Linked DNA regions of Homo sapiens: all the other regions are linked to region 1. Evidence: promoter capture Hi-C in 16 types of primary human blood cells and fetal thymus (Javierre and others, 2016). All regions are on one chromosome and are shown on one strand. Each heading gives the region's core, a stretch centred on a gene start or on the middle of the fragment in contact. The rest is flanking DNA. Distances are from core to core; before and after follow the strand shown.

Region 1 (4,120 bases), core at 1,138-3,637:
AAGATTTTCAAGGAAAACTACTTTCACCGTTAATTTTTCAGTAACATATTTCACAGATCATATTAGTGTTTTCTTAAAGTCACAACAAGCAAAGTGCAAAATTAAAGAAACAAATACAGGAGTACAGTAGTCGAAAATGGCAAAAATTCCAAATTAACTTAGTTACAAAAGAATGGCATGAAACAATATTAGAAGTAACTACTCCATAAAATTCATCCAAAAGTCAAAGAACCATCACACAAGTAATGAATTAACTAGGTTGAGAAAAAAAGAAAAACCAGTTCTCATAAAACAGTGCATTTTCCCAAATATTTAATGTAGGCTTACACGTGAACCTAAGCTTTTTCGGTGCTTGACAAAAAGTTAAAACTATCATCAGATGGGAAATGAATTCAAGCACATGATTTTTTTTCCCACATACTCAAGAATTATTTTAAGAAACAAGGAAAAGATGGCAGGTTTAAGAAAAGTCAACTACTTTCCCAAACTCTTGAGTACAAATATAAAAATTATAAAAATTGTAACTAGAGCTCCCATTTTATCCTAGTTTGGCTATGCTCTCCCCAGAGCTCACTTTAGATTTAGTGATCTGAAAGAATGTGAACCCCTTAATCAACCAAATTCCAATAGTTGCTTGACACAGTCCATCTATTACATTAAAAGAGAGAGCAAAATTAAGTTTCACAAAAATAAATCTTGTCTACAAGCCTCACAAAGTGCAATAACTTAGGATTCAATACCTTTTAACTTAACTGATTTCATATACAGCACCAACACACATCCCCAAAAAAAGAACAAAAATCAGGATATTTTCACGTTAAGAAATGACAGGTATATTCTGCCCACGTTTGTCATCCTAAAAAGCTGACTCACTACTAAGCTTCAACTACAAGCCAGAAAACGAGAGCCCTCTGGGAGAGCACACCCAAAAGAGCTGTCAAGGTTCGATGCTTTGATTTCACATGGTGGCACAATGACTGACTCCAACACGTTATTAATAAATGCAGGCACAGCTTATGTCACCATTTCTTTAGGTTAAGTTTTCATACCTCCCTTCCCAGATGTCCACATTAGACACAACTCTGAACGCAAATGTTTTTCTTATATAAAACCGAAGAGAAGAACGACTTAGGTAGGACTCCAGTCCTACCAGTCTATGGACTCTACCATAGACTGGAGGTAGAGTCCCTCCAGTCTATGGTTTTATTCAGCCAGTCTTGAAGTAACAATACAATATTTATGACTCGAAAAATTACATTTTACTGCAAGAAAAAAAAAAGACAGATTCGATCCAATCACCGTACCTTGCTCTGCCAAATGTTAGTACCAGAACTTCTGAAATAAACAAACCTGTGTCTATGTTCATCGGGTCCATGGATCAGGAAGACTCCGGGGTTTTTAGCCCCTTTACCGGCATCTACATGTGGAATTAACACATCTTCTAAACCCAAATCAAAGCGTTTGTGTTTTGAAGAGTCTGGAAGGAAAAAGAATGCCCCAAAACACAGAGTGATGAAGGCACTAAGAATAAGGAGAAGAATAAACTTCTCAGAAAGTCTCAAGGTAGCCCTGTGATGTGGGAAGGAAGGCGGCCCCAGGTTCAGAGGTGGTATCCTACGTCCAGAGAGGGGCAGCAGGGCTGGGGTAGTCATCGTTTACGCTCTTGGAGAGAATACTTTAGAAAGTTCTCATCTTATGTCAAATGTAGAATACATTGAACTGTCTTCAAAATCTTGGCCAAAATGGGAAAACTCAATTTTGCTCCTCTTAAAGGACTGTTGTGCTTTTTAAGAGGGCACGTCATTCACGCCCATCCATTCCCACTCAGAAACGTGTGTGACCTCCCCCAAACGATCACAAGTTTAGGTCCTGCGATATCCTCTTCAACATCTGTACTTCATCGGATTATTACAAGCCTCCTCTTCATTCCTAGGGGTAGATCAGGCAAGCCACACTGCAGAAAAGCTGCAAGGTGGGTTCTTCCATTCCTGCACCTCAGTGAGATGCTCAAACGTAGTCTTCCGCCCCGAAAGGGAGACTGGCGACATCCGAGGAGTTGTAGAAGGTTCACTTGATCTCCTTCGACGCTTCTATTCCAGAATCTCTTAACCTTAGCGGTGGAAAAAATAAGGGTCTCCCACGGACGTCTGCAAACAGGGAGGAAGGTCTCCCACTTCGCTGGGAAGCCGAAGCAGCGGCGCTGGGCGAAGTAGCAGGAAGGAGTTCTCGGCCGCCCGCGCTTCCCGGCGCTGCCTGGCAGGAACCTGGCGCCCGGCTGAGTCCCGCTGCTGCCCACTCGACGGCTGGCGCGAAGGGCAATAGCGTCCGAAACACCTGAGTCCGGCCAGCCGCCGCGGCCGCCGCCGCTGTTGCTACCGCACGGGTCTGTCAGGGAGCGGAACTTCCTCCTCCGGCGGCCACTGAGAAGCCCCGGCGTGTCCTGGGGGAGGGGAGGCGCGGCGGCCGCCCCCGCCGAGCTCCTCCTCCTCCTCCTCCTCCTCTTCCTCCTCCTCCTCCTCCTCTCCGCGGCCGGTTCAGTGAACCCCGGCGCCTGCTCCCCGAGCTAGGCCGCCGGCCGCAGTGGCCGAGCCCTCGCGCCTAAGAAGCCGAGCCGGGGCCCACGCTCCGAGAGCCCGGGGTAGGCGCCGGCTCATTCCTCACTCAGCCCTGGAGCGGCGGGAGGGCCTGGGCGCGCGGGAGCAGCCGCGCCTCGGGCGGGCAGAGGTCGGCCGCGTCTCCTTCCTGCCCGGCCGCGGGGGCCTCCTCCGCGCCGCCTCCGGTGGCTCGCAGCTGCTGGCTCTGGCGGCGGCTGCCAGAGAGGCAGCGCGCCCACGCCGCTCGGGGCTGCGGCCCGGTCCCCGTACCCTGCCTCCCCAGGCCTGGTGAGCGCAGCAGCTGCTGGGCCGACACCCGTTGGGCTCACGCCGGAGAGGAACCGGAGGGCGGGGGCGATGGGACCCGGGCCGGCCTACCGGCCCCGGCTCGCGAGTGGGCGTCCCCGGGCGGCGGAGTGTGAGGTGCGCGCGCACGCTCCCGGCTCCGCTGCCGCCGCCCCTCCCCCACCCAGCCTGGCTGCCCGGGCTCCGGCCTCGCGCCGCTGCCGGCTCCAGCAGCCCGAAAGCGTACTGCTGCCGCCGCCGTCTGAGCGCGAAAGAAGAGAAGGTCGCCGATCTGCGCTGCCACGAGAACTTCACCGGTGCCCAGGGCCTTGCCACCGCCAGTTCGTGGGGTTGACCCAGCGTTTGGGCGAGAGGGAGCGAGGGGTTGGGTCGCGAAGGTTTCGCTGAAATGTAGTGTCACCGGAGTTAATGGCTTCTGATGGCTTAGGTTAACGTTTACTGTGATTCTTTGGAAGTCTTGTCTTCAGCGATAGACCGTCAGGCCCGAGGATTCAGCAACAGGGTCTCAAACTTCCACGCAGCAGCCCATGCTCACGTTATTGGGCCCCCGAGGCTCGATTAATAGAGCACCAACATGTGCCATGTTACGTTTTTAAAATAAAGTGGTGACCCTGCTCCTTCAGCTGGGCTTCCTTTCAGAGGAATCTAGGTACCCCCGATATGACAGGCGTCTCTTCATTGTTCAGTTTCTGGGGCACGTTCTATCATCTTCACACACCTCATCAACCCCCTTCCCATAAAAGAGAAAATGGATGAATAAGGAGGTGCTGAAACCCAAAAAGGCGACAATATTGTTTACGTTCAGGCTTAAAAACAATCTGAATCAATTCTGTTCTCCGTAGTATTGAGGAGAGCCATGTTGTGATTAAGTGCAAAAGATTTCCTTGCAAGATACATAGACTCTTGCATCCGATTTACTTGCAGGTTGTTTTTGTTCTAATATTGTCATTCCCTGTACACATCCTTTACTGATGACTGGGAATTGGAGAGGAGGCCCTTAAATGTCAGGAGAGTAAGTCAGCCTTAGCTTAAAAATCAAGCAGAAAAGTCTCATGTTCATTGGCACACTTGTAACTACATTCCAGTCTCCCAGTCTGCATTATTTCTAGAAGCTCTGCATATCTAACTGCCTACCACATGACAAAAGTCATTGTCATTGATCCTGCTTCACCAAATAAAAAGTAAAAATATTGAGGGCCACCTCTCACCAGTTCACCCAG
Region 2 (4,120 bases), core at 1,214-3,713, 810 kb after region 1:
AAGACAATGGGGAAAATGTCTCCAGGGCATATCAGAAACCTTCATGGCAGCCCCTCCTATCACAGGCCTGGAGGCCTTGGAGGGAAAAATTGTTTCATGGGCTGGACCCAGGGCCCCCCTGCTCTTTGCAGCCTCCAAACATGGAGCCCTGCATGCCAGCTGTTTTAGCTCCAGCCATGGCTAAAAGGGGCCAACATACCACTCAGGCTGTTGCTTCAGAGGGTAAGCCTTGGTGGCTTACATGTGGTGTTGGGCCTGTGGATGCACAGAAGTCAAGAATTGAGGTTTGAGAACCTCTGCCTAGATTTCAGAGGATGTATGGAAATGCCTGGATGTCCAGGCAGAAGTTTGCTGCAGGAGTGGGACCCTCATGGAGAACCTCTGCTAGGGCAGTGTGGAAGGGAAATGTGGAGTTGGAGCCCCCACACAGAGTCCCCACTGGGGCACCGCCTAGTGGAGCTGTGAGAAGAGGGCCATCATCCACCAGACCCCGGAATGGTAGATCCACCGAGAGCTTGCACCGTGTACCTGGAAAAGCCACAGACACTTAATGCCAGCTCATGAAAGCAGCCAGGAGGATGGCTGTACCCTGCAAAGCCACAGGGGAAGAGCTGCCCAAGGTTGTGGGAGCCCATCTCTTGCGTCACCTGGATGTGAGGCATGGAGTCAAAGGAGATCATTTTGGAACTTTAAGGTTTAAGACTGCCCTATTGGATTTAGGACTTGCATGGGGCCTGTAGCCCTTTTGTTTTGGACAATTTCTCCCATTTGGAATGGATATATTTACTCAGCACCTGTACCCCCATTGTATCTAGGAAGTAACTAACTTGCCTTTGATTTTACAGGCTCATAGGTGGAAGGTACTTGCCTTATCTCCGATGAGACTTTGGATTTAGACTTTTGGATTAATGCTGGAATAAGTTAAGATTTTGAGGGACTGTTGGAAGGGCATTATTGTGTTTTGAAATGTGAGGACATGAGATTTGGGAGGGGCCGGGGTGGAATGATATGGTTTGGCTGTGTCCCCACCCAAATCTCACCTTGAATTGTAATAATCCCCGTGTGTCAAGGGCAGGGCCAGGTGGAGATAATTGAATCATGAGGGCAGTTTCCTCTATACTGTTCTTGTGATAGTGAATAAGTCTCACAAGATCTGATGGTTTCATAAAGGGGAGTTCCCCTGCACACGCTCTCTCTTGCCTGCCACCATTAAGACATGACTTTGCTTCTCCTTTGCCTTCTGCCATGATTGTGAGGTTTCCCTGGCCATGTGGAACTGTGAGTCCATTGAGCCTCTTTCCTTGATAAATTACCCAGTCTCATGTATGTCATTATTAGCAGTGCGAGAATGGACTAATACACCCCATCTCTACAAAAAGTTAGCCAGGTGTGGTGGTGCACGCCTGTAGTCCCAGCTACTCAGGAGGCTGAGATGAGCCTGGCAATTGCTTGAGTCTGGGAATTTGAGGCTGCAGTGAGCCATGATGACACAACTGCATTCCAGCCTGGGTAACAGAGCAAAAAAATAAAAAATAAAAAGGTAGGAACTATTTTATTATTAACAGAGTCTGTCTTATTCTGCTGTTGTTGACATTTTACAGATCCTTTATTGCCAACTATCTGCATAACTAGATTTTAAGTTCCTTGTATGCAGAAGTCATGTATTATTTTTTAAAATTTTCCTTATATTGATCTGTTTTTTTTTAATAGTAAAGATTGTTGAATCTGAACATTAGATGACAATGTATTTGTCCAGCATTTCTCCATTTGAAATTATCTCACATTATTATGTGAGACTTGTTCATGTGCTTTGCTGGAGTTGAGACTTAGACAGTCTGTGTTTTTTTATTTAGCAAAGATAATCCAAGTTAAAATAGTGTTGTGTGTTCCTATAGGAAAACTAGGCCCAGTGTTATAACAGAGTGTAAGTAATAATAGCCACTAGGAGGTAAGTACCTGCTCTGTGCCAGGAGCTATGCTTCAGATTTGAGATGTTTTTATTTAATTGTCACACTGATTTTATTACATAGGGAACATTTAATAGGAGAACAAAGCTTAGGTAGGTTCAGTAATGTGTCCAAGTTCACACAGCAAATAAGTGGCAGAGTGAACTTGAACTTTGATTCTCTCTGAATCAGAACCTATTCCTTTATATGCTCTGTTGTATCCCTAGCCTGAGATCCACTAAGCAACTTTTTGAAGATGAGTACTACTGATTTCTTATATCCAACATGTATACATTGTCCAATGAAATTCTGCTAAAACATGGGAAATATAGGTCAGCACAATTACCAGTCATGCAAAATTGTATTTAATATCATAATTTGTAATGGTGAGGGGTGCTTCTTTGGGACATAGAATTTACAATGGCAATTTATTGACATATTTATTATTAACATTATTATATTTACATTCTCTAGGTACCCACATTTCACTCCTAGACACTTTTGCATAATCTCAATAACATCATAACATCTATAAATATTAACACTAATCCTGTAACATCACCTAACTTTTACCCGTATTCAGATTTCCCCACTTGTCACAAGAGTGTCTTTTGTTAAAAAACCCGGATCTAATCAAGTTTCACTCATTGTATTCGTTGCTATGTTTTTTTGTTTTAATTTTGATGGGCATCTTTCAGAAGTTTTAAAATAGTCTTAGAACCTCTTTTTAAGAACCAGATTTGAATAATTTATTTTATTGACCTCCTTGTCACTCTAACATTTCTTTAGTAAATACAGGCTTTGAGGGTAGGTATTGGTTTCTCTGTTTAAAAGTAGAAACTTTGCATAAATCAGCCCTTATATGTGTAAGTTTTCTGCCTTTTGGTTTCTTCTCATGCTGTTTCTGCACAAGTGCCTAAGCTTTTTTGAAGCTTTACTTGAGGGGTGACCAGAAGGTTTTACTTAAGGACACAGACCCTTAAATTCTGCAATGACAAATCTCAACTTCCATCTCAGGGTTGTAAGTGAAACCAGGATGCAGCCGTTTCTCTTTTCTCAGATAAGTTCAGGTTTGAATATAAAGTGTGACTATAAGATACAGAGACTGTCCCTAGAAAAGGAGGGGAAAACATTTTAGCAGTTCCTCTTTGGAGATAACTTTCAGTGCCTGCCCATCAGCCTCCAAGGAAAATGCTTTTTGGTTACTTTATAGGTTCTAGTGAACTTTGCTTACTTTACAATGTTCCCCAAAATGTCTGTTGAGATTAGTGCCTGAATTTCCACTGGGCTGACCAGTCTGTAGTTTCTTGAACATTTTCTTCCTATGCCAGTTAAAAATTAGAAGAAAATTGAAGTTTAACATACACATTCAGAAAAAAATAAAAAATCAGATTAATAAGAAACTAATGAGGCTGTGCCATTGTAAACTACTTGCAATAGAGTTTCCCAACGATGAACTGAGTATCTAGAAAATAACAAGGATTCTCAAGGAATTTTAGTGAAATGATCAGTACTGTATTGAAATACCTTGAATCAGACTTTGGAGAATAGATTTAAAAACACTCACAGCCTTAACCGATCTAGTAAGAACCTTATTCCCTAAAGCATACTGTGGATCTCAGCTGTATCCTATCTAAGGTGAGAACAGTCAAAGACAAATGTGGCCTTTGAGAAAGGTGGGATGTGAGTGTCTTGAAACAACAGGCTAAAGAAGTGCTCTCAAATAGAAGTATAATATGGAACATGTGAAATTAATTTTAATAATATATTTTAGTTAACCTAATATATCCATAATATTTTCATTTCGACATGTATTAGGTTGGTGCAAAAGTTATTGTGGTTTTTGCTATTTTTTTTTAATGGCAAAAACCGGCAATTACTTTTGCACTAACCTAGTAGTTACTACAAAAAAATATTAACAAGAGATTTTATGTTCCACTTTTTAATACCAGGTCTTCAGATTCTGGTGTGTATTTGATACTCAGAACACATCTCCATTTGAACTAACCATATTTCAGGTTCTCACTAGCCACTTGTAGCTGGTAGCTACTTTGATGGATTGCATAGGTCTAAAGGGAAACATCTTGAGAAAGAAGAAATAGGTTAAGTGCAAGAACAAGAATTAAAAAGGAAACTATTTTAGCATCATATTAGAAGGAAAGTACAGAAAGAAG
Region 3 (4,120 bases), core at 645-3,144, 600 kb after region 1:
GAGGTGGCAAACTTATTGGTGAACTTGAGTCACCAAGTCACTGCAACCCACTGAGCATGGGTAAGGAGCCTAACATTAGAAAATTAGCAAAGGAAAAGGAGCAGGAGGACTGAGATGAAATTTCCCAGTTTACAGTTGAGACCCTTTTGGAGCTAAGCTGGTCCAGCTGCTAGTATTAGACTATTATTTAGGGTGGGCAGATAGGCTATCAGAAACCTCTAAATTTTCTGTCTTCATATAAACCTCTGCGATGTTCCAGTGCCTTAAATTATGTGGATATTTTTTCCAACATGGTTGGCCTTCTTATTGGAGATTTGCTTGTGGGGGAATAGCTAACTGGGCTACAACTGTTTATTTTTCTTACAATACTGCATTATCTATAGTCTCCAAGGTTGTCTACAACTTGAATGCCCATTGGAATCAGCTGGAGAGGTTGTTTAAAAATATGTTTATTTGGCCCCCAACCTGACTGACAGAAGTGTCAGCATTTTTTTTTTTTTCACAAGCTCTACAAGCTATTCCTACGCAGCTGGCCTGACTACTTCTCAGAATGTCCATGCTCTGGGGCAGGTTCAGTGGGATGTCACACAGTGTCAGACAGGTGGGTGACAGCAGCACAAATCTTAAGCAAGGTTCGTGTTTCCCACCTAATGGTGGTGCAGGGCAGAGAATCTGTCTTATCTTCCCTGGATAAGGAGGACAAGCATGTTGTGTATGTTCACTTCCCTTCCTTTCATCAGGACTGGGCTCACCCATTGAATCAATTGGCTAATGATAGCTTCAATAAAGTGCTGGCAGCGATATTGAGAAATGGTCATTGTACTCAAAAAGCTTCTTTACTATGCATTTCATCAATTCTAAAATGCACTAACATAAAATAACATTTTTTCACATTTTAATATCTCAGGAATGGGATTGTGACTGAAAGTTGACTGTATCTTAGTATTTGTTACAATGCAACTGAGAAGTGTTCTTCTCTTTCTTAGTGGCATGTAAAAGAATGATGCCACTTAAAATCAATGCCATCTTCAAATTAGTTAAATATAGTTGTTAAAAAAGAAAAAGAAATACAAAAAGTTGAAAACAGTAGTTGAAAAATCAATGACATCTTCAAATCAGTTAAATACAGTAGTTGAAAAAGAAACTACATGTTTGTGTAAACAGAAAGCCAAATGAGCCTTGCTCATGCTGTTGCCTCTACATGGGTAATTCTGTACCTCTGCTTCACCAGTTCAATTAATCTATTACAACGCAACCCAAACGTCCCTCCTCTAGGAAGCCCTCTTTGTCACCCCAGTCTTACCACTCAGTCTGGGTTCAAAGTCCTTCCTCTGGGTTCATGCACTTGCCTCTGACCTATATTTATCATACTGCATTGCATTTGTCCCATGGTTGGTCCGTTTCTTGCCTACCAGGTGGTGAGCTCCTTGAAAGCAGAGATGCAATTGTACACCTCTGTTTTCCTAGTGCCTAGCACAGAGCCTGACACATAGTAGAAGTTCAATAAATGTTCGTTGAATGAATGAACGATGAAGGATTGAATAGGGTGTATGTGTTTTGTACCATATGTAATGCCACAGGAGTTCAGAAGAAAGGCAGAGCCCAGGGCTGAATAGACCAGGGAAGATTTTCTTAAGGGAATGGCGTATGAGCTGTTCTGGTGAGATAGCCAATGAAATCACTCATGGGTATCATGAAGAATGAGAAAGGGGCAGAGCTAGGACCCTCATCTCTCTCTCTCTCTCTCTCTCTCTCTCCTTTTTTTTTTTAGACGGAGTTTTGCTCTTTTGCCCAGGCTAGAGCGAAGTGACACGATCTCACCTCACTGCAACCTCCACACCCCAGGGTTCAAGCAATTATTCTGCCTCAACCTCCCGAGTAGCTGGGGTTATAGGTGCGTGCCACGATGCCCGGCTAATTTTTTTTTTTTTTTTTTTAAGTAGAGAAGGGGTTTCACCATGTTGGCCAGGCTGGTCTCAAACTCCTGACCTCAGGTGATCTACCTGCTTTGGCCTCCCAAAGTGTTAGGATTACTGGCACGAGCCACCATGCCCGGCCAGAGCCCTCATCTCTCTACTGGGTAGATCCTGTGGCAATTGTTACCTAGCTGGATTTTGTGTTTGAATTTTGGGAGGCGATGAGGTTTCATTCATCATTGCCCTTAGTAATTAACTCTGGTTGCTGGAAAAATAGACTCTCAGATTCAGAGGAAAAAGTAGTTCAATCCTCAGTGAGCTGTCACAGGAAGTCCTGAATGTACTTAGTTTTTGTGGTTTAGCCCTCAGAGCTTCCTGCCAGAGTGTAACAAGGTTTAGCAAGTCTAAGAAGCCAAGGAGAAGGCGGGCAGACAGGACCACAGACAAGGCACCAGCATTTCAAAGCAGGTGCCTTCTCACCACCTATTGTTTTAGAACTCTAACTGAAAACTATTTTTTTCTCCCCACTTCCCTCAAAGTACAGCTGCATGACTGCTAGCTGGGGATGGGGTCTGACCTTTTAATCATAGTCATTTAAGACACTTAAGATTTGATTCAACTGAGTTGTCTCTTAGCCTATCTTTTTGTATGTCATCTGATGAGTTCATGACACCTCCAGTATCCATAGATTCCCTTGTTTTGAAGGATGACAGTACAGGTCATTATGACCGTGTCTGAACAGTCAAGAAAGTAAGACCTAAAATGTTAAGTTTTCTGGTGACTCCTGTTAACGTTTGTGCATGGAGGCTTTAATTCATTATGGAAATCTACAAATAGGTTGTTGGACCCAGCTTTGCAGCTGAGACCTGGGGAGCATGTTCGGGTCATTCTGGTGAGGACTAAGGAGGTCTCAGCCGGATTGAGTTGACTGAATTTGATCCTGCTGTCACACCAGCGAGGCTCTTTCTTATTCGGCAGCTTCCTCTCCTCGACACTGGGATCCTTCACACAATGAGCAGACACGGGTCTAGTCAAAGCTTTTATTTCACTTTTACTCACAGGATGGTGGGCAAGTGTCCACCAGGGCACATAAGAAACTCCAGAGTCTCTTAAGCAGATAGGCTGCTTGTAGTGAGACCCAGGCACACCAATCACTTGATTTATCGCATCTACACATGACCTGAGAGGGGACAAGAAATCTCTAAGATTTCTGTGCTCGGTCCTCTACCATTCTTGCAATCACACTTATATTGCTTCTCCTTACTGGTGTGATGGAGCTCTCTGAGGAGACCAAAAACTCCAGATGTTGACCACATGGCTGAGTTCGAAGATGCAGAGGTGGCTGTGGCCCACAGCCTCAGGAGGTGACAATGTTCTGCACACAGAAAACACCTCATGGAAGTACGGATATGCACATCAGGAGGGCAGAAATCCACAGTGCTTTTTATTGAAAAAGACAGTTTCTATCTTTTTTAATTAGAGGAAGGGGACAATGAGTTTTCTGCTGCCCCATGGGGAGGTTTTGGCTGAACTCGAGGTCTGGGGAGGGGCGGGCCTTTCTGCTGGTGAACTTGTGTGCCCGACGGAGCAGGAGGCCTCTTCTGAGGCTGGTGCTGAACACGGTGTCCAGGAGGCGGGGGACGATGACTAGGTGCCTGGGAACGATGACCAGGTGGTGGAGGAGGATGTTGGGAAGTTGCTGGATTCTGAGGGGTTGAAGCTGGAATTTGGTGGGGCTTCCGGCCCCTTTCTTCAGTAGCTACTCTGTGGGCTCTTGTCTCCAGCTCCTCATCTGCAACAACAAAACCTCAATAGAGTTCATCTTGGCCAGGTGAAATCAATGTAAATATTGAGTACCTTTTATATGCAAGGCGCCATGCTAGCTGCTTTGGGGGATGCAATGAGGAAGCAGAAGTTGCCCCTACTATCTGAGAACTCTAAGCTTGTAGGAGAGAAAGAAGTGCTCACCATAAGGTAGAGTGAAAGCCTAGGACAAGAGAACTCAAGGAATCAGCAGGAAGAAGACACATGGGTGGAGGGCTTTGTGCCTGGGGCTCCCATGATCAGAGAGAGCACGCAGACCTGGAACCCTACCTCTGTGCTGACCTAGAAATTGTTCCCTGAGAGCAAGAACCTCATGGTTAGAGCGCATGGGAAGGGGTTATGAGCAGTCATGGAGGATATTAGTAACTACATTCCTTCTG
Region 4 (4,120 bases), core at 1,183-3,682, 540 kb before region 1:
GAGCCAAATGCCTGTATGTCACATAAAAATATGGCATTCAGCTAAAGAGAGTCCATGATCTCACTGTATATATGCAGATTTAGACCACATCTTGAGTTTTATATATATTTCTGTGTGTCATATTGCATGAGACACTGACAAACAGGAGGACAAACAGTTTGAAACAGTAGTGGTGTTTCTTCTAAAGAAGAGCATGCTTTTAGCAAATATGATGTCCATCTTCAAATATCTGAAGGAATCTCATTTGGACTTATTCTGTGCTACATTTTTCAAGCAGCAGTTCTTTGGGATATTGTCATAAACTACGATGAGCATCTGGTGAAAGAACACTATGGACCCTTTGTCAAGAAAAATGTGCATAAATACAGAATTTGCATGTTATTTCAGGAAGTTTACAGATCCTCATCAGGATTGTAGATAAGAACTCCAACTGTACAAGGCAAGGTCTAAGACCAAGTTATAAGGAAGAAAATGTTGGTCCCACTTGAAGTAGTACTAACTGTAACAGCAAAGTATTTTAGCGAACTTCTTGTCACTAGGAACATTCATGCAGAGGTTACAGGACCATCTGTTGCAGCTGTTATAGAAAACACTTCTCATTTCAGAGACGAACTATACTAAATCATCTTTAAGAGCCCCTGTTATCTCTAGAATTTAAAGTCGAAGAGCTGAAAGCCTTATATCCACAAATACCAAAAAGATATTTGAATGTATAAGTTATTATTATGTAGCCTGGAGTTTAGGGTGAGTATCTGTTCAGTCTTAGTCTTATTTAATTATAACCTATTTTAAAAACCAATATTCTAACTGCTCAAGGATTTTATAGTAAATTTGTATATTTTATAATTAAGCTTATATACATTACATTAGACTGAGCTTGAGGGGCAGGGATCTTATCTTTTTATCTTGAATGCTTGACATATGGTACTTGCTCAAGAAATATATATTTTTAAAAGGGACAAGTAAATTCCACTTACTTTACTTAACAACCCTGTGTTTTAGGTAGTGTGGTGTCCGTTGTACAAATAAAAGGTCTCAGAAATTTCTCCTGTTATGAGGGTTATGCAGACTTGGAGCATATATCCAGACCTTCTGACTCCCAGGTCTAGTAACCTGTCTGTTATACTAGATGATTCATTATGCTTGAGTTAGAACTGCTTCAGTGGAAGACTACTATGTTATTACATGCCTATCTTCTAAATGGTACCTAACGAAAGCAAAATTCCTCCCTTGATATAATTGCTCCTGACAAGGCTTTTGGCTGGTCTCTGCATTCTCTGATTTTACTTAGTCCTTGTCATATCATCTCATAGCTTCTTTTATATATCTATTTTTTATTAAGGTAATCATAAGGATTCTATTTTAAAGAGGCAGCATTATTTTGTAGAAAAGGTTCTGAATAGGGGGTTAAGAAGACTGGTTTTTAGTTCTAATTCTACCAGTCCAACTCTAGCTCTGTGGCCCCAGACAAATCACTTGATACAGTACTATGAAAGAGGTCAACTTTGAGAGTAACAGCAGATAAAGATCAATAATGGGTATAAGGGACTTTGATGAAGCAGTTTCTAGAAATATAATTAGCAAAAAGGAAATGTACAGCTCTTAAAAAGTGGGCACATTTGACTTATTAGGCCTTAAATCTAGTGGCAAAACTGTAGCATTTCATTCAAACACTTACACAGAAGATGATGCCTTTTGCTTGAATACTTTATCAAGCATTTGGAAAACAAATGGCTTATACACTTTTGTAACATATATGGGCCAAGAACAAATCTAATGATATAACTCGAAGTCCTTAGTATCAAAAGCTTTCTTATTAAACTATTATCAAAATTTATTTCATTTGAAGCCTAAATAATATGTTTTTGATAGATATATTAAGACACGTGCTTTTTTTTTCTTAGTTCATGTGCAGTTTGTTTTTCTCCAGAAAAAGCCTAAAGAAATATCTGCATTGAAATAAATTTATCAGGTTATTTATTCATCCAACAAAAATTTAAGTGACTACTATGTGCTGTATACAAAATACTACAGTGGTGAGAAATAAGATGAAGGTGTTTGTTCTCGTGGTGTTTCCAGATGGGGAATTATAATGTCCTAGATGTCATTCTTACAAATTATAGGGTATTCACTAGGTATTTAAGCACAGGACATTGTGGTTGGTTGCAGAGTATAGTGCACAGATGAAACTTTGAAAGGAAGAGCGTGGCCTGGCCTTTAGTACTAAAACCTTAGAGTCATGACATTAGTCTTCTTCACTGCTTTTGCAGAGTTAATTTTCTAAATGAATTCCACTGAGAGAATTCAATTTGGTTGCTATTTGGTATTGTATTTTATCTTCCAAAGGAAATAATATAATTATATTCTGGGAAACTATTATGCATGAACATTACAACTTGGTGTCAAATAAATAGGAAACAGAAAATCTTTATTTATTTATTTATTTATTTATTTATTTTTTTGAGATAGAGTCATACACTGTCGCCCAGGCTGCAGTGCAGTGGGGCAAACACAGCTCAATGCAGCCTCAACCTCCTGGGCTCAAGTGATCCTCCCTTGTTAGCCCCCCAGGTAGCTAGGACTACAGGCATGCGTCACCATACCTAGCTAATTTTTTAAAAAAAATTTGGTAAACACAGGGTCTCGCTATGTTGCCCAAACTAGTCTTGAACTCAGGCTCAAGTAATCGTCTTGCCCTCACCTCCCAAAGTGCTGGGATTATAGCCATGAGCCTCCATGTCCTGCTGAAAATCTTTTTTTGAAAGTTCGTTTTTGAAAAAGCATTAAAGCAGAATAGAGGAAAAAATAAAAAGTAAATTTGTCATCTAACAGGAGGAGAGTTATGAGTGTTTGTTTAGTCCTTTAACAAATAGGTTTGCTCTGTTAGGTTCTTGAGATACAGTGTTGAACAAAGCAGGCAATATGTAACTGAGCCATAAATTGTTAATTCAGTTACTAGTTACTTTTGAATGATTGCATATCACATCCGTAAGGTGTGCTAGGCCCCAAATTAAAGTAATATTAATATAAAATATACTTGGTCTTCAAAAAGCTTAGTCTAGCTATAAAATGTGAGAAATTCTTAAAATGAAGGGTGTTCAAAAGATTCTAGGAGGGGCATAAAGAAGGGTGGAGATGGCTCTTGGCTAGGTCTTGAAAAATGAGTAGGAGTTCACCAAAAGAAGAGAATGGTGGATGAGTGGTACTCTAGTCAAAGGTAGGCACATGCAAGCAGAGGCAGGGCATCATAAAAGTAAGTGGTATGTTTTGAATACAGCAAAGTAGATTTGGCTAAAGCATAAGATGTGGGAGGAATAATTGAAAACAGGACTAAAGAGCTGAGTGGGGGAAAGTGGACAGTTGGCGTTGGAGTATAGAGAGTCATGCTAGGGTTTTTGAATCTTAACCTGTAAGTAGTGCAGAGCATCACCAGTGTTTATTAAAAAGGGTAACATGAGAAGATAACTCGGGTAACATGAGAAGATAACTCAGGCAACAGTGAGTATGTAGACTTGCGGAAAAAAGACGCAAGGAGAGCAGTTAAGAGCTTATTACCAAAGTCTGTGTGAGCCTTGAGAACCTGAAAGCAGCCAAAAGAAAGGAATAAATGTTAGAAATATTAGCAATAGAATTAAAAGTCATGGGAACTATTTGAAAATGCAGCATGAAGGAAGAGGTAAAGGAAGCATCAAAGACAATTCAGGATTCTAGCTTGGATGATTGGTTGGATGTTGATATGTAACCAAAATAAGGAATGTAGGTAAAAAGGACCAGGTTTGTTCGGAAAAAGATGGCGGTCAGGATTTGGACCTGTTGGGGTCAAATTTGGCTACACTGAATTTGAGGTCTCTGTGAGTTATCTAAGCAGATATACCTAATAGGCATCAGGTAATTTGGGTCTTTTCCTCAGAATAAAGAATATAAAGATTTGGGAGCCATCAGCATTTGAGGTAATACCTATCCAGCACATCAGTGAGCTAAGGAGAATAAGTATATCAAAAAAATAAAAAATATTGAAGGCAGAACCCTGGGGGACAACATTTTTAAAAGATGAGGACATGTGTGTTAAGGGCTAAAGCTAGGGAGAGATCCAATGAGTTAAGAACTGAAGTAAAGGCCA
Region 5 (4,120 bases), core at 663-3,162, 520 kb before region 1:
TTTTTCTCAACAAAATCATTATCTTTTTCATTATTAAATACTTATTAAGCTTTTACTAATGTGCCAAATGTTGTGCTGGATACTACTGGTAATAAAGTGACAAGCAAGACAGATACAGCACCCGCCTGCATGGAGCTTAGGGTCTTGCAGAGGAGAAAAATGTTAAACTAATTAGTATATGAATAATTGTTTAAATTACTGTACAGGGTCAATAAGAGGATACAACAAAGATCTTAACTAAATCTAGGATGGGTCAATTGTATAAGGTCTGGGAAAGCATCTGCTAATTCCAAAGACAGAATTTTCCCTGGGCGATGATTATACACAGATGGGTTAGTTATTAGTCTTTTAAGAGTGATACAGTTTAAATTTTTTTTGTCATTCAGCTGCTGGCTGTACAGGTGGATGGTAATTTATTAACTGGAAGAAACTGGCTTATATTAGCTTTGTGAGAACAGTGTCCAACCTCAGTTGGTTGCAACCCATTGAGAAACTAATTAGTGTTTCTGCATTTAGAGCACTGTAGTGGCTATTTTTTTCTGCCATTTTGACATATTTTGTACGATTATTTATCCATGATTATTATATTTACTCATAAAATAATAGAAGTTTGTTTATTTGGAATAAGAAAGTACTCTATATAGGATATTTAGGAAATATCCTGTAGGAAACCCAGAAACTATTTTGAGTTCATATTTTCCTTTTAGCTTTGTTTTGATTTTTGGATTGGAACAAAAGATTGCATGTCTTCCTTTAAACAAAACAAAACACTATAGCAAAAAGTGAGGTGCTGTTTATAAGAAATGTAATAGAAAACATGAAATATTCTTTGAATAATGAAGTTTAGAAAAAAAGGAGGGTATTGTCTATTGAGTGAGAAGAGTAACAGTCTTTTTGCTTTTACTCTTTCTTCCCAACTGGTGATTTTTTTAAAATAATGACTAAATAATCAGACTTACACAATCTATAGTGGTAATGGCAGAGACTTAATTAGAATAAAGAAGAAACCTGATGAAGATTGCAATCATGAGTTGTTGCATGGTCCTTAGAAACCAGAACAGGACCAGTGTCTCAGCAGTGATTCTAACCTTTTAAAAATCATGAACCCTTTAAGAATCTGATGTAAACTATAAACTTCTCCCCACAAATATGTTCATAGAGATTTTGTCAACCAAAGTCTATCTTTAGATCTCAAGTTGTTAATCATCAATCAAGGTTTAAACATTTTAGAGTTTATACTAATTCTGTGTTCACACTATGGACAAATCAACTTTAGATAGATTAAGGACTTAAATTTTTAAAAATTCTGAAACCTGTGGAAGAAGTTAAGCTAGTATCCTTCAAACCTTAGAGAAAGGGAAGATTTTTTTAAAGACATGAAAAGCATTTACCACCAAAGAAAAAATAGTTTTGACTATATTAAAATTAAGAACTTTTGAAAGTAGAGCCAAGCTTAAACAAAGTAAAAAGCAAGTTACGGAATGGGGGCAGATATTCACAAAACACACAACAAATGATCAGCATCAAGAATGTGTAAAGAACTACAACTTGGTGAGAAACAATCAAATAACCCAATAAAAAATGGAAAAATGATAGGAACAGGCATCTCATAGAATCAAGTCAACATGAGCAGAATCTCAACCTCATTACTGACCAGAGAAATGCTTTACCATTTCTAACCTATCCAACTGGCAAACACTAAAACATCTAATAGTAGCAAGTGTTGGTGAGGACAGGGATTCACAGTCTCATATGCTTCTTATAGAAGTATAATTTGGTGCAATGCTTTGGAAAAGAGGTTTGTCCTTATCTCCTAAAATTAAACATTCCCTGTAACCTAGCACTTTCACTCATTGGTACCTACTCAAGAGCAATCATGCACATGTATACCAGGAGACACGCAAAACAAGTTGATTGTAGCCCTCTTCACAATAGCAAAACCCTGGAAACAGCCCAAGTGCCCATCAGTGAGAGAGTGAATGAAAAAAATCTATAGTTTTTATCTAGTATGAATACATGATATATACAGATTAAGTATGCCATATCCAAAATTCTTGGGACCAGAAGTGTTTCAGATTTCTGATTTGTTTGGATTTTGAAATATTTGTATCGTACTTACCAGTTGAACATCCCAAATCCCAAAAATCCGAAATGTTCCAGTGAGCATTTTTGTTTTAATTGTTATGTTGGCACTCAGAAAGTTTTGGATTTTGGAGCATTTCAGATTTTGTATTTTTGGATTTGGGATGCTCAACCTGTGATTGTCCAAATCAATCAACGACATTGAAATCCAGTGATACGGATGAATGTTAGCAATATGATAAGTCAAAAATGTAAGACCCAAGAGATTACATACAGCATGATAAGCTTTTTTAAATAGTTAGAAACAAACAAAAAATAATGTCTTACATTGACTACATGTAGATGAATTTAAAACAATATAAAAAGGAAAGCAATAAATGATTAACCTGGAATTCCAGATAACGGTGGGAAGTAGCACATGGTTAGATGAAGGTTATTGTGAAAGTGCTAATTTTTGTTATAGTGGTAGATTTTAGGGTGCTTATTACTTCATTAAAGATAAATAATTATATAACTAGTCTTCTAAGTGGACCATGCATATACCAGTTATGCGAGTGTTTTCAATTAAAGATGATGTATTCCATTTTGTACACCTGAGTTCCAGTTAAAAAAAATTTTTTTCAGAGTTCATTGAATATAGATAGATATAGATATAGATATAGAGATTGAGTGTCAGGAACTACCCTAGGAATTGGCTAGAAATGAGAGACAAATATGACATATTGTCTATCTGGTGGTCTAATGTAATAGAAATAGCCTTTTCAATAAGTGTGTAAAATCTTGCACTGAACATGGTAGAAGTCTTTGGGGATACAAAGAAGGGAGCATTTGTTTCTACGACATGTCTAGAATTTGCCTCCACTCTGCTCCTTCTCACCCCACCTCCTTCCCCACCACCAGTCCCCTTCTCAGCATACATATTTGATTGATAGAGTATTTAGACTTCTGGTTACCTGTCTTGTTCTTATTACAAAGTTAATTTTCTTCGTACTGTAATATGTCTGTCTCACATATGCAACCTTAAACTCAAGAGCCTTTTTTAATTCATCTCAGGCCCCAAAATACCTTACATAATACTCATGTTTATTATTTCATTTAGCAAAGAATTTAGTACCTACTATGATGCAAACACTGCATTTATTCAATAAATCTTTGAAAAATGAGCCAATGGATACATGAACAGAGTATAGAAGTTAATAGGTATTAATTGAATCCTGTTATATGCTTTGTGCTAGATACTGTGGTGCCCATATGATGTAATATACATTTTGCTGTTTAGTCTCATTATAAACAATTAGTATATAATAGAATGATTTAAAAAACATAATAAACTCTATACTTTTATTCTTCACTGCCACATTTTTGATGTCATAATTTACGTTTTTATATTATTTTTGTCTCTTAACAAATTATTGTTGCTATTATTAATAGTTTTGTCTTTTAACCTTCATACTAAAGATATAAGACAGTATGTTAAGTGAAATAAGTCAAGCACAGAAAAACAAATATAGCATGATCTCACTTATATGTAGAACCTAAAAAAACTGAACTCAGAAAAACAGAGAATAAAGTGGTTATCAAATGCTGGTGGTATTGGGGTGGGATTGGGGAGATGTTGGTCAAAGAATACAAAATTTCAGTTAGACGAGAGGAATAAGAGATTTATTATATAATACGGTGACTGTAGTTAATAAGAATGTGTTGTATACCCGAAAATTGATAAAAGAATACATTTTAACTGTTCTCACCAAAAAAAAATGATAAATATGTGAGATAATGGATATGTTCATTAGCTTGATTCAGCCATTTTACAATGTATCCGTATATCAATACATTACATACATTATTTGTCAAAGAAAATAATTTTTTAAGTAAAGAAATAGAATTTTGATTTAGTGTAAATAGGAAATGACTGTATGAAAATATGGAATAGTGCATATGATTTAGGGAGAACTACAATAAACATAGGCATTTTCTTGACTTTGAAATTATATTTTGAAACAAAATTAAAAGCTACTGTCTTTGACTTTTCAATTTG

The links. The method cuts DNA at HindIII sites, captures the fragments that hold promoters and counts their contacts. A CHiCAGO score of 5 or more calls a contact.
Region 2: a contact is called between a fragment that was not itself captured here and the fragment with the promoter of MAN1A2 in region 1, in 1 of 17 cell types (activated CD4 T cells). The highest score is 5.5, in activated CD4 T cells.
Region 3: a contact is called between a fragment that was not itself captured here and the fragment with the promoter of MAN1A2 in region 1, in 1 of 17 cell types (non-activated CD4 T cells). The highest score is 5.0, in non-activated CD4 T cells.
Region 4: a contact is called between a fragment that was not itself captured here and the fragment with the promoter of MAN1A2 in region 1, in 2 of 17 cell types (total B cells and naive B cells). The highest score is 6.8, in total B cells.
Region 5: a fragment that was not itself captured here is called in contact with the fragment with the promoter of MAN1A2 in region 1 in 5 of 17 cell types (naive B cells, total B cells, megakaryocytes and 2 more); the score reaches 8.4 in naive B cells.

Annotation. Positions count from the first base shown.
Region 1 is chr1:117,365,716-117,369,835 of GRCh38, reverse strand. MAN1A2 (mannosidase alpha class 1A member 2) reads right to left here and starts at 2,387. Exons shown (of 13, transcript NM_006699.5): 1 at 1,351-2,387. The coding sequence starts at 1,652. RefSeq lists an enhancer at 1,322-1,461 and a silencer at 2,332-3,151. The HindIII fragment of the contact is 7,016 bases long and covers 883-4,120 here.
Region 2 is chr1:116,559,749-116,563,868 of GRCh38, reverse strand. All of the region lies in intron 1 of CD58 (CD58 molecule), which reads left to right. LOC105378925 (a long non-coding RNA gene) reads right to left here. Exons shown (of 3, transcript XR_947739.2): 3 at 2,682-4,120. MIR548AC (microRNA 548ac) reads left to right here and starts at 3,758; the gene lies at 3,758-3,845. RefSeq lists enhancers at 1,202-1,351, 3,951-4,120. The HindIII fragment of the contact is 813 bases long and covers 2,057-2,869 here.
Region 3 is chr1:116,768,052-116,772,171 of GRCh38, reverse strand. It overlaps CD2 (CD2 molecule), which reads right to left. Exons shown (of 5, transcript NM_001767.5): 5 at 2,943-3,708. The coding sequence ends at 3,389. Among named protein-coding and RNA genes, the nearest start is that of CD2, 16 kb to the right of the region's middle. RefSeq lists cis regulatory regions at 2,194-2,225, 2,300-2,322, 2,397-2,420, 2,488-2,508 and enhancers at 1,994-2,523, 1,856-2,955, 1,656-2,955, 1,456-2,955. The HindIII fragment of the contact is 2,122 bases long and covers 834-2,955 here.
Region 4 is chr1:117,907,167-117,911,286 of GRCh38, reverse strand. All of the region lies in intron 5 of GDAP2 (ganglioside induced differentiation associated protein 2), which reads left to right. Among named protein-coding and RNA genes, the nearest start is that of GDAP2, 20 kb to the left of the region's middle. The HindIII fragment of the contact is 1,244 bases long and covers 1,811-3,054 here.
Region 5 is chr1:117,889,035-117,893,154 of GRCh38, reverse strand. The region is part of intron 8 of GDAP2 (ganglioside induced differentiation associated protein 2); the gene reads left to right. Among named protein-coding and RNA genes, the nearest start is that of GDAP2, 39 kb to the left of the region's middle. The HindIII fragment of the contact is 915 bases long and covers 1,455-2,369 here.